3 separate regions of the Homo sapiens genome follow, and regions 1 and 3 are each linked to region 2. Evidence: promoter capture Hi-C in human tissues and cell types (Jung and others, 2019). All regions are on one chromosome and are shown on one strand. Each heading gives the region's core, a stretch centred on a gene start or on the middle of the fragment in contact. The rest is flanking DNA. Distances are from core to core; before and after follow the strand shown.

Region 1 (3,490 bases), core at 83-2,582, 190 kb before region 2:
CTCAAATGTCATCTCAGCAAGGCCATCCTTGACCACCACATATAAAATAGCACTGTTCATTCCCCATGGCTGCTTTATTTGTTTCAACCTGACATATAATTACTTAATTATATGATTCCTTTCTCTCTCTCCCACTTTGATGTAAGCTTCAAAGGGCAGGGATTTTGTGTGCTTTGTCCACTGTTGTGTCTTCAGTGCCTGCCATAGAGCAGGCATGAAATACATGCATTGAATAAATGAATGAATGATGTTATCCTAGAGATAACTGAGAATACTAATTGATGAAAAAGGAATTTGTTTACAAACTTTGGGACTTTCACTCTTATTACTAACACATTGCTAGAAGTCTGACTCTCAGCTGCTTATGCCAGGCTCTGGATGAAGAATGTGTCTGGTTTTTCAACCAGAGCCCAGTTTCTCAACCTTAGTGCTACTGACATTTGGCGATGGAGAATTCTTTGCCGTGGGGCTGTCCTGTGCATTGGAGGATGTTTAGCAGTGGAGAATGGACATTAGAGAAAGAAGGGATAAGCCGCTGCCAGGAGGATATTGCATTATTCCAGGAAAGAGAAGAAAGATGACAGCCCAGAAGAGGGTGGTGGCAGGGAAGATCGGTGAAAAGTGGCTGGACTCTGGATGTAAGGTGTGGAGGCAGCTCCTGGGAAGCCACAACGCCCCTGCCTCCACCAGTGGTCACAGACCCTCAGGCTGTGCAATGGGTCTTAAGCCCTAGCCTTTTTTTAAGCTGTGAGTCCTTGGGTCACGTAGCTGTTTCCTCATCTGTAAAATGGACCTAATCACAGCACGTACCTCATAAGGAGATTGTAAGGATTTGATAATTATGGCAAATAACAGTAACAGACACATAATGCCCAACAGGTCAATAACAAACTTTTATTATCAGGATTGGTTGTGTATATTCATTCAGTGGAACTTATTGAGCACCTACTATGTGTCAAGCATTGTGCTGGGTGCTGGGGACAAAGCAGAGATCAAAACAAAGATCCCAGCTCTCATGGCACTGATATTCCAGTAGAAGAAGGAGCAAGACTGTTAAAAAAATAAACACAGATACTGATTGGACCAAAACAACCATGCAAAATAAATCATGAGACTGTAAGACAATCAGGGAAAGAAAGATGAATGCTAACTGAATATTGGATGATATTGAGGAATGAATGCTGTGTTTTTAGATGTGATAATGCTATTACGACTATGTTTTAAAATCTTTATCTTTTAGATACACATACTGAAGTGTTTATGGACGAAATGACAAGATCAAATAATTATGTAGTTTTTTTTTTTTTTTGAGACAGAGTCTTGCTCTGTCGCCCAGGCTGGAGTGCAGTGGCTCAATCTCGGCTCACTGCAACCTCTGCCTCCCAGGTTCAAGCAATTCCCCTGCGTCAGCCTCCCAGGTAGCTGGGATTACAGGCACCCGCCACCATGCCCAGCTAATTTTTTGTATTTTTAATAGAGATGGGATTTCACCATGTTGGCCAGGCTGGTCTCAAACTCCTGACCTCAAGTGATCTACCCACCTTGGCCTCCCAAAGTGCTGGGATTACAGGCGTGAGCCACCGTGCCCGGCCTGATATAATATTTTGGATGGCACTGTGGAGAAAGTTCTGCAGGGAAGGAGGGGAGTGCTGGGGCTTAACCAGGCTGGTCAGGAAAGGAGAAGGTGCCAAGTAGAAAGGGAGGGAGACAGGCATGTGGGCATGTGGGGGAAGAGTGCTCTGGGTGGAGAGAAAAGCAGTGCTAAGGCCCTGGGACAGGAACGTGCCTGGGGCACTCAAGGAACATTCAGGTATTAATGTGGTTGGAGCAGAGTGTACCGGAGGCAAGAGAGTAGAAGGAGGTGAGATCAGAGGTGCGACCTTGTGGGTCACTGCTGAACTCTGACCCTTCCTGGGAGCCTCTGAGCCCCAGAATAGGCTCCCTGCTTCCAGCCTTTCCCATCCAGTTCAACCTCTGCAGAGCAGCCAGAGCCGACTTTCTCAAATGCAGTCTGCTCAACTTCATCACCCCCTTCCCAAAACTTCCATAGTTCCCACTGCCCCCAGGATAGTCCACACTCCTTAGCCTGGCTTTCGACATCCCAACCCAACTCTCCACCTTCATCTCCTCCCCATCCCTTCTTCAGACACCCTCTGCGACCACCACACTAACCTTTCTGCATGCCCCCAAAAGCTCCAGCCTTCCTCAGCGCTGGTCACCCTCTTGCCCAAGCTGTTCCTCTGCCTTGCACCCATTTCTTCCTCTTCTCTGCCTGCAGCCTCTCTCTTTCCACCTTCAAGGCCCAGCTTCCCCACCACCTCCTCTGTGAAGCCTTCTTTAACCACCCCCCGCCCCCCTACCACCACCTACACTTCCCTTCAGGCAGCACTGACTGCTCCCTCCTCTGTGCACCGGAAACCTGACGTTCATACCTTCCTCGCACAAAACATCGTGAAAATTCACTTGTGGGTTGTTCTGTGGATGCCAGGCCTGGCCTACAGAGAAACAGGAAAGCTTAAGCGTGCAGGCTGTGCAGCCTGACTGCCTGGGTTCAAATCCCAGCTCAGCCACTTTTGAGCTGTGTGCCCTTTGGGGAATTACATAACTTCTCTAGGTTTCAATGTCCTGATCCGTAATTTGGAAAGCCTCATAACAACCAGGGTTGTTGGGCAAATTCTATATGAAACACTCAAGCCGTGCCTGGCACTCAGCAGGTGTTCAGTATATTTCACTATTACTATTGTTACTGCAGGTAGGTGTTGGTAAACGTTTGTTGAGTGAATAAATGAGCAAATGTGCATGATCTTGTGATGACTGATCAGAGGGGTCTTCCTTAAAAGGTAAGGGTCTCTTCCAGGTACACCCTGCTCCTTCCACCTTTCTTGTCTCTACCTGCCTGCAGAAAGAAGTGGCCTTTTGCCTTCCATTTACAGAGAGGAGACACACAATTAAGTTAGACACTTGAGGTGTTCCCTCACACCCTGACTGTTTTTGAGACAAGGTCTCGCTCTATTGCCCAGGCTGGAATGCAGTGGCGCGATCATGGCTCACTGTAACCTTGACCTCCTGGGCTCAAATGATCCTCCCACCTCAGCCCCTTGAGTAGCTGGGACTACAAGTGTGCACCACCGCCACACCCGGCTAATTTTTGTACTCTTTTTTTGTAGAGACAGGGTCTTCCTATGTTACCCAGGCCAGTTTCAAACTCCTGGGCTTCAGCAATCCTCTCACCTTGGCCTCCCAAAGTGTTGGGATTACAGGTATGAGCCACTGCACCTGGCAGCTGCTCCATTTTTGCTCTGAAATGAGACTGGTTTCTACCACAACTGCCCACCATGGGCTGGCAGGCAGGCACTGTCTTTGAGAGAATAATATTGCATTTGCCAATTCCACACCATCACTTACATCCACCAGGTAATGGGCCTAGAACCAAACAGTTTCTAAAAACAGATCATCAATTGTCACTAATCACTCCCTACAGGCCATCCCT
Region 2 (3,323 bases), core at 174-2,673:
CTAATTTCTGTATTTTTAATAGAGTCAGGGTTTCACCATGTTGGCCAGGCTGGTCTCCAAATCTTGACCTCAGGTGACCCATCTGCCTTGGCCTCCCCAAGTGCTGGGGTTACAGGCGTCAGCCACAGCGCCCGGCCGTCAGAACACTTTTTTAAATACCTAATAAATGCTCGATAGAAAGTGCTTTGTTAAATCCCACGTTTTCCTAGAAAACTAAAGCTTCTCAAAGCACGTGTTTTCTACAGTAGACCCATAGGAGACAAAGACTTACTCGTCAGGAGATCGAAGGTTGTAGATGTCTGCACGTGGCTTCCTTGGAGGTCCAGTGGTGACTCCCTCTTCCAAAATCCATTCTGTACCCGCTGGCTGCTCTAACCTGTGAACCAACAAATAAAGGGCGTTAACCGCCATCTTCCCACGGTCAGAAACGAACAAGGCCGGGCCTTTTGAGGCCGATGTATCAGAACTAACTGGCAAAATATAAGACGTCAGCATTGTCGATCTGATGGGGAAAAAAGTGAAGTCATCATTTACACCAGCCAAGGGCTTCTCAGGCCCGTGCAGAAGGCAGTGGCTTTTCCAGCTCCAGAAACTCATTTCTCCCACGCCCTTAAGGCCTATTTGGGGTCAGAGACGGAGAAGCCACGAGAAGGAGATTAGGGCTGGCCGCAGAGACGACGGCACAAAGAAGGGAAGGGAGGACCAGAGGTCTCCAACGAAGAACATGGAGTTTCCACTCACCACACACAAAACGGGAACTTACGGGCAGGACAATAGCGTATGAAGCCTGACTGCAACTAGGAGAAGTACCACACTCCGGGCACCGCAGACGCGAAAGAACGAATGGCTTCCTGAACCTCCCTTATATAACCAAAGATGGCTTTCGCACCTGCGCACTGGACCCGAAACGCTCTCTTTCCCGCCCGCTCCGCGCGCGTCGCTCTGGGAAATGTAGTCTCGAGCAGCACAGCCCGAGGCGCTCTAGTAGTTGTCCAGGCCGCGTCTAGCCCCGCCCCCTTCCCTCTACACGCCGGGCCACCCGGGCTTGTCCGCTTCCTCGCCATGTCGCGCTTCACACGCACCAAACCGCTCGACGGGTTCCCCTTCCTCTGGGGCCGGCTGAGGCCCGCAAAGGCCTTGGGCGCAGTCATCTCCCGCCCCCCGCGGTCCGCTCCCCTCAGCCGCGCCCGCCTGAGCCCGCCGGCTCCGCCGCCGGGGGGAGCTGAGGTGACGCCCTCCTCGAGGGCGGAGGCGCCGGCCGTGCCTGGGCCAGGCCCTCGTGCTCTCCACCCTGGGCCCCCGCCTCCTCCTTCTCCTCCTCTGGGCCGCCCGCCCGGCTCCGCCCAGGGTCTGCGGGGAACGGAAACCGAAAGTGCGCGGCGCCGGGCGGGGCCACCGACCTGCCTGGGCCGAAGCCCCAGCACTCGCCGGCGGCAGTGAAAGGACGCGCCGGAGCCGGGTGAGTGGCCCCGCAACTGCCCCTGCCCCTGATTCTTCCTTGCCTCGCCGCGAACCCCGGCGCCCGCGCCGACCCGCCACTGCCTCTGCCCGTAAGACCTGTCACCCTCTCAAGCCCCCAACGCACCCGTCACCCGCTCAGAGCCCCTGGCCCCTCAGCGCCCCGTCGCCCCCTCAATCCCCAGACCCCCATCACCCACTCAGAGCCTTGTCACCTCTTTGGCCCCCAGCGGCATCAGCACCCACTCAGAGCGCCTCTCAGCGCCCCGTCTCCCCCTCAGACCCCAGACCTCCATCGCCTACTCAGCGCCCCGTCACCCACTCAGCCCCTGGCCCATCTCAGCGCCCCGTCGCCCCTTCGGCTCCCCTGTACTCTCTTTAGTGTCCCCATCCCCTCAGCTGGCCCGTCGCTCTCCCCAGCACCCCCGACACCGTCACCGCTTCTGCCCTCAGCACTTCGATCTCCTCTGCCCCTACCCCTGTCTGTGCCCTCCCTTCTGCCACTCGCACCCCCCTCATTCCTCCGGCCTCACCTCCTGTCACCTTATCAATCCCCCTCTTCTACAGAGCACCTCGGCACCCCCTTCAGCCTGCTCCCTGCCCCCACCCCGCCGCCTCCGTCCTCAGCAAGCACCCCCTGGTGCTCGCTACCACCCTCTCCCCAAGGCCCCCATAACCCCGCCACCTCACAGCCTTGGCGCTCCCTGACCCCATAACATTTCCATTAGGGACCGTGGGCTCCCTGGGTCAGGGATTCCCCAGGACCCTGGAGACTTCCCCCAAACCCAGCTCTGCCTCCGACCTCAGCCTCCTGCGTCCCACTCTGGTGATGACTAGCCCCTCTCATTCTGACTCCAGGCCAGCTTGATCATCACTGATTTTCTTCTTCGTGCCCTTTAGGCCTTGATTCCCCCCACCAAAAAAAAACACTTCAGTCTGTTTTCGATCCCAGCATTTCCTGTTCATGTCTACTCCTCCCTTCCTTCCCTTGCCTTTTTTTTAACATCTTTTTTTCTTTTCTTCCGTTTCTTTTAAATTTTCTGGAGTTTCTATTTTAGCATTTTTCAACAAGGGGAAGAAGGAATTTTCCCCTCGGAGAATTGAAAATAAACAAACAAACTCTAAATACTGAGCCTGCGCCAGGAGGGCTGGGTTTGATAAGATGAGGGAGGGGACTCACCAGAGATATTCCCAGGGGGAAGAAAAGAGACTCCTTTTTCAGATGAGGAAAAAAGCTGCCCCTCATATAATGCCAAATGTAGTCACAGTTTCCAATTATGAATATTTTAGAACTCAGTGAAGACAGTCTCAAAAATCCCTTTGCTGAGGACTCTGAGTCACCCACTCTTTCCTTAGCCCCAGCCCACACCATGTGTATGAGTTGGGTTGAGAAGCTCCCTTAAAGGGGCTTCCTCTTCCTCTTACAGGACCAGTGTCAAAAATCACCAAGGTAGAAGAATGAGGAGGAAGAAAGAATATCAGATTTCTAGCTGGTCCTGAGGAAACAGCACCTCGTAGTTGCCAAACCTCCTGGTTATTGAAACATGTAATTTCTTTCTCTTGATTCAGTAGAGCAGAGAGCTTAATCATTTGGCTCCATTCCAAAGAGTAGGCTAAGGGGATAACTGCTCACTAATTATTTATAAACTGTAGGGTACTGCAAGCTATTGGGTACTATATAAGTGGCAGATATGTAAATGCCAGATAAGGTGGTGAGCACATGGTTTTGGATTAACAAAAATGTACTCCTTTTTGTCCTGGCAACAATATTGTCTGCTTCTTAGGAAAGGAAAATGAAACCTAGCAACTGATTAAGTAACTTGGCTAAAGGCATAAACCAAACAGCAGTTTTGAATGGGAATTGA
Region 3 (3,649 bases), core at 132-2,631, 180 kb after region 2:
GTGTAATCCCAGCACTTTGGGAGGCCGAGGCAGGCAGATCATGAGGTCAGGAGTTCGAGACCAGCCTGACAAATATGGTGAAACCCCATCTCTAATAAAAATACAAAAATTAGCTGGGCGTGGTGGCGGACGCCTGTAATCCCAGCTACTCGAGAGGCTGAGGCAGGAGAATTGCTCAAACCCAGGAAGTGGAGGTTGCAGTGAACTGAGATTGTGCCACTGCACTCCAGCCTGGTCAACAGAACAAGACTCTTATCTTGGGGGTAAAAAAGAAAAAAAAAAGGGATATCGATAACTCCTGTGACAAATCACTTGAGCTGGGAAGACAAAAGTTCCAGTTTAACTACACTGAATGGACAATGAACAATTCCAGCATAAACTGTGCCTCACAAAATTTAGATATTCTGATTCTTCATTCCTCAGAAACGAATGCTGTACAATTCCATGGGCCAGGCCAAGGGAGGGAGCCAGTGCAACCAAGCTCACCAGGCATCCGGCCGGATCCACCACTGGACTGGACTTCACGGTTCTAAGGTGTCAGGGTTTGAAAAGTTCCAAGTAACCTCCACTCTCCAGGGAACAGCAGAGATGAAAGAGATCAAAACATCCACAGTCTCAAGTACTCTCGACCGCCATCCCATTAAGCGAGGCAGAGCATTTCTCCCAGAGGAGCCACCTACCCAAAACTCACACTGCCACCTAGGAACTGCTACAGAAAATTCTAGTAAATAAGCCCCAAATCTATATTAATGTCCCCTTCCCCCATATAAAAAAAAAGACTAAATAATCTGAGTTTACATGATTTAGAAATTAGGATTTTACAGAGTCCAGGAAAGGAAAAGGAAGAAATTTAAAGAAATTCTTCATTTTTATAAAAGCATGAGAGAGCACTGAAAACCTGCCCTTAAGATGTTCTTAGGTACATATTTTAGGATTTTTATTGCTGATTACAGATTTGAAACTATGAAATGTGCACTGCTTGGCAAGTAACACAAGTAATTCTTTACTTATTCACATTTCCAATAAAAGCGTAAATAAACAGACAAAAAATATAAAGGACAAGAGAAATACAAATAGCAACAGCTTCAAAACAAAAGGATTTAGTAACAGAAAGTCTCCACAGTGTCCGTCAAAATTTAAGATTATCCAAACCGTGCAAACGCTCAACACAAACCAACGCCATACACTGAACTATTAATACTTGTCCCTTGAAGTTGCAAACTAGAAGCCACCCACATAACTGTATGATCACACAAACCAACTAATTTGCTCAAGGTTCAGGTTAAAGCAACATTTAATATCCTTTACAAGATGGAATTCGTGACAAGTTCAAAAGGAGAACTTCCTTTGTTTTAATGCAGCTGTGCTCAGAAGCCTGTGATTTCCTAGGAAACCATCTGGGTTTAGCCCATTAGAAAAATGCAGTTTAAAGCAGTGTCACACTGGCTGCCTGAAGGTACCCTTGGAGATACTGGAGCGCTTCTGCATTCAGGCTGGTGCTCACCATTGATGGAACCTACAAGAGATGGGAAACACACACTGGCTGTTGGAGATCTTGGTGCGCCAATACAAACCCCATCTTCTACGGGAGAGCTGCCACAGCTCTGGGAAGAGCAGCCAGTCAAGTCATTAATCACCATCCAAAAATTCTCCAGAAACTCAACTGCTTTTATGCCTTCAAAAATAGGTCTAAAGAAAAGATCCATAAGGAATTACTATTATTAGGTGTGATAGTGGTATTGTGGTTAATTAAAAAGTCCTTACTGGTTAATGATGTAGAATAAGGTACTTACGCGTGAAACGTATGATGTCTAAGACTTGCTCAATACAGAGAATAAAAGGAGAAACGAAACAAAACTGGCAAGATATTGGTAATTATTGAAGCTGGGCACATGCAGGCTTCATTATGCTCTTTCTATATATGTTTGAAAGTCTCCGTAATAATACAATGAAAAAATATATATACATATATATACACACGCCACACACATATATGTTTTTTAAGAAACGGGACCTCGCTCTGTTGCCCAGGCTGGATTGCAGTGGCACTGTAATAGCTCACTGCAGCCCTGGCCTCCCAAAGCACTAGAACTACAGGCATAAACCACTGTGTCTGGCTTGAAAAATATATATTTTATCAGGTAACATGTAAGAACTCTATAATAAGTGCTGACAAAATGCAACTATACAGTCATTATTAGGTTTATGCCATGATCTATTAATTTCTGAGTATGCTGCAATTAAAAAAAAATAACTGTGTCCAGGCTCACACTTGTAATCCCAGCACTTTGGGAGGCTGAGGGAGGAGGATGGCTTGAGCCCAGGAGGTTGAGACCAACCTGAACAACATAGGGAGACCCTGTCTCCACAAAAAAATAAAAAATTAGCTGGGCATAGTGGGTCCTAGCTACTTGGAAGGCTGACAGGCAGTAGGATCACTTGAACCTGGGAGGTTGAGGCTGCAGTGAGCCATAATCGTACTACTGCATTCCAGCCTGGATAAGAGTGAGACCCTGTCTAAAAAAATAAATAAATAAAAATAAAAATAAAAAAATGCTACCACATTTTAATAATAGATGGATTACTTCGATCTGGGAAATAAACTCTTATTATAAAGTGCTGACAAAATGCAACTATACAGCCTTATTACATTTCTATTGAAGGGATTTTTCCTCCTTTGTTCTCACTCCTAAATCCATTCACTTAAAATATATTTGTAGTACATAATACAAGAAAAAAAGGGCTCAGTGTTTTTAATTAAAGAAAATAAGCTTGCTGTAACTCAATGAGATTTAGTTTTATTACGCCCACCAATGAAAACAGACACCAGAACTACTACTATCCTTTTGCCCTCCCATTAAAGTCTCCATTTATCACAGAGTTCTTTGACAACACACTTACCCTTCCTGGACAGGCGGTAGACAACTTGTGAAGTGACTGTGCCAGGTGAATTTTGGGGTTATTCACCATTTGACCTACAGGATCATGCTCTTTTTTCCCAGCAAATGCCAACTGTGAGAAGGCAGTCTGATATCCTGGTGTATCTTCTATGTCAATAAAATGTTCCTCATCAGGAATGGTATCATCTTCGGGTAACTCAAAAAGACCAATCAAAGACTGTAATAATGGAGTCCTGGATTGGAAGAAAGCAAGAGATAAAAAGGTCAAGAAAATACTCGGAAGACTTAAAACCAGCAATTGCTCAGAGACACAAAATTACAGACTCATAGTCTCAAGAATAAAAGGGGACCTTTGAAATTAAGATGGTTCTTTTCTTGGCTTATTCAGTTCTTCCCCTTAAAGATAAGTCAGTTTAGTTGGGCTTCTGTCATAAAATTGTCTTAGAGATCACCTAGATCAGACTCTTAAAGGGGTCCATGAATCCCCCTGAAAAAGAAGCAGGAAACAAGATCATTCTAAGCCCAGAAGGATCCAGAAATCATGTCTTGGATCTGATTGTGGAGAAGCTGAGATCAGACCAAGATTCTCTTGGCCCCCAAGAGAATAAGCTTTGTTAATTTTGCAGTCATATGGGAAGGAAGCTGTAACTTACAAAAATATTAAAATGAAGTACTTACCACAGTTTGGTATACTCAGTGTCCATCATTGGGGGACATTCTGTTAGTAATTTGGTTATGCCAACCGCACA

Evidence for each region. Contacts are between HindIII fragments. The study calls those that stand out against the background at their distance.
Region 1: a fragment that was not itself captured here is called in contact with the fragment with the promoter of ZNFX1 in region 2 in 2 of the 25 tissues and cell types used here (aorta and dorsolateral prefrontal cortex).
Region 3: a fragment that was not itself captured here is called in contact with the fragment with the promoter of ZNFX1 in region 2 in 2 of the 25 tissues and cell types used here (adrenal gland and heart right ventricle).

The regions. Positions count from the first base shown.
Region 1 is chr20:49,467,523-49,471,012 of GRCh38, reverse strand. The region is part of intron 1 of KCNB1 (potassium voltage-gated channel subfamily B member 1); the gene reads left to right. Among named protein-coding and RNA genes, the nearest start is that of KCNB1, 13 kb to the left of the region's middle. The HindIII fragment of the contact is 3,354 bases long and covers 1-3,009 here.
Region 2 is chr20:49,276,157-49,279,479 of GRCh38, reverse strand. It overlaps ZNFX1 (zinc finger NFX1-type containing 1), which reads left to right and starts at 1,423. Exons shown (of 14, transcript NM_021035.3): 1 at 1,423-1,459. It overlaps ZFAS1 (ZNFX1 antisense RNA 1), which reads right to left and starts at 1,302. Exons shown (of 4, transcript NR_036658.2): 1 at 764-1,302; 2 at 272-376. It overlaps SNORD12C (small nucleolar RNA, C/D box 12C), which reads right to left and starts at 535; the gene lies at 457-535. RefSeq lists enhancers at 719-918, 794-1,088, 846-1,346, 1,347-1,847, 2,189-2,248 and silencers at 1,009-1,368, 1,419-1,648. The HindIII fragment of the contact is 7,798 bases long and covers 1-3,323 here.
Region 3 is chr20:49,094,216-49,097,864 of GRCh38, reverse strand. It overlaps CSE1L (chromosome segregation 1 like), which reads right to left. Exons shown (of 25, transcript NM_001316.4): 23 at 3,579-3,649; 24 at 2,902-3,133; 25 at 916-1,516. The coding sequence ends at 1,427. Among named protein-coding and RNA genes, the nearest start is that of CSE1L, 50 kb to the right of the region's middle. The HindIII fragment of the contact is 5,127 bases long and covers 1-3,649 here.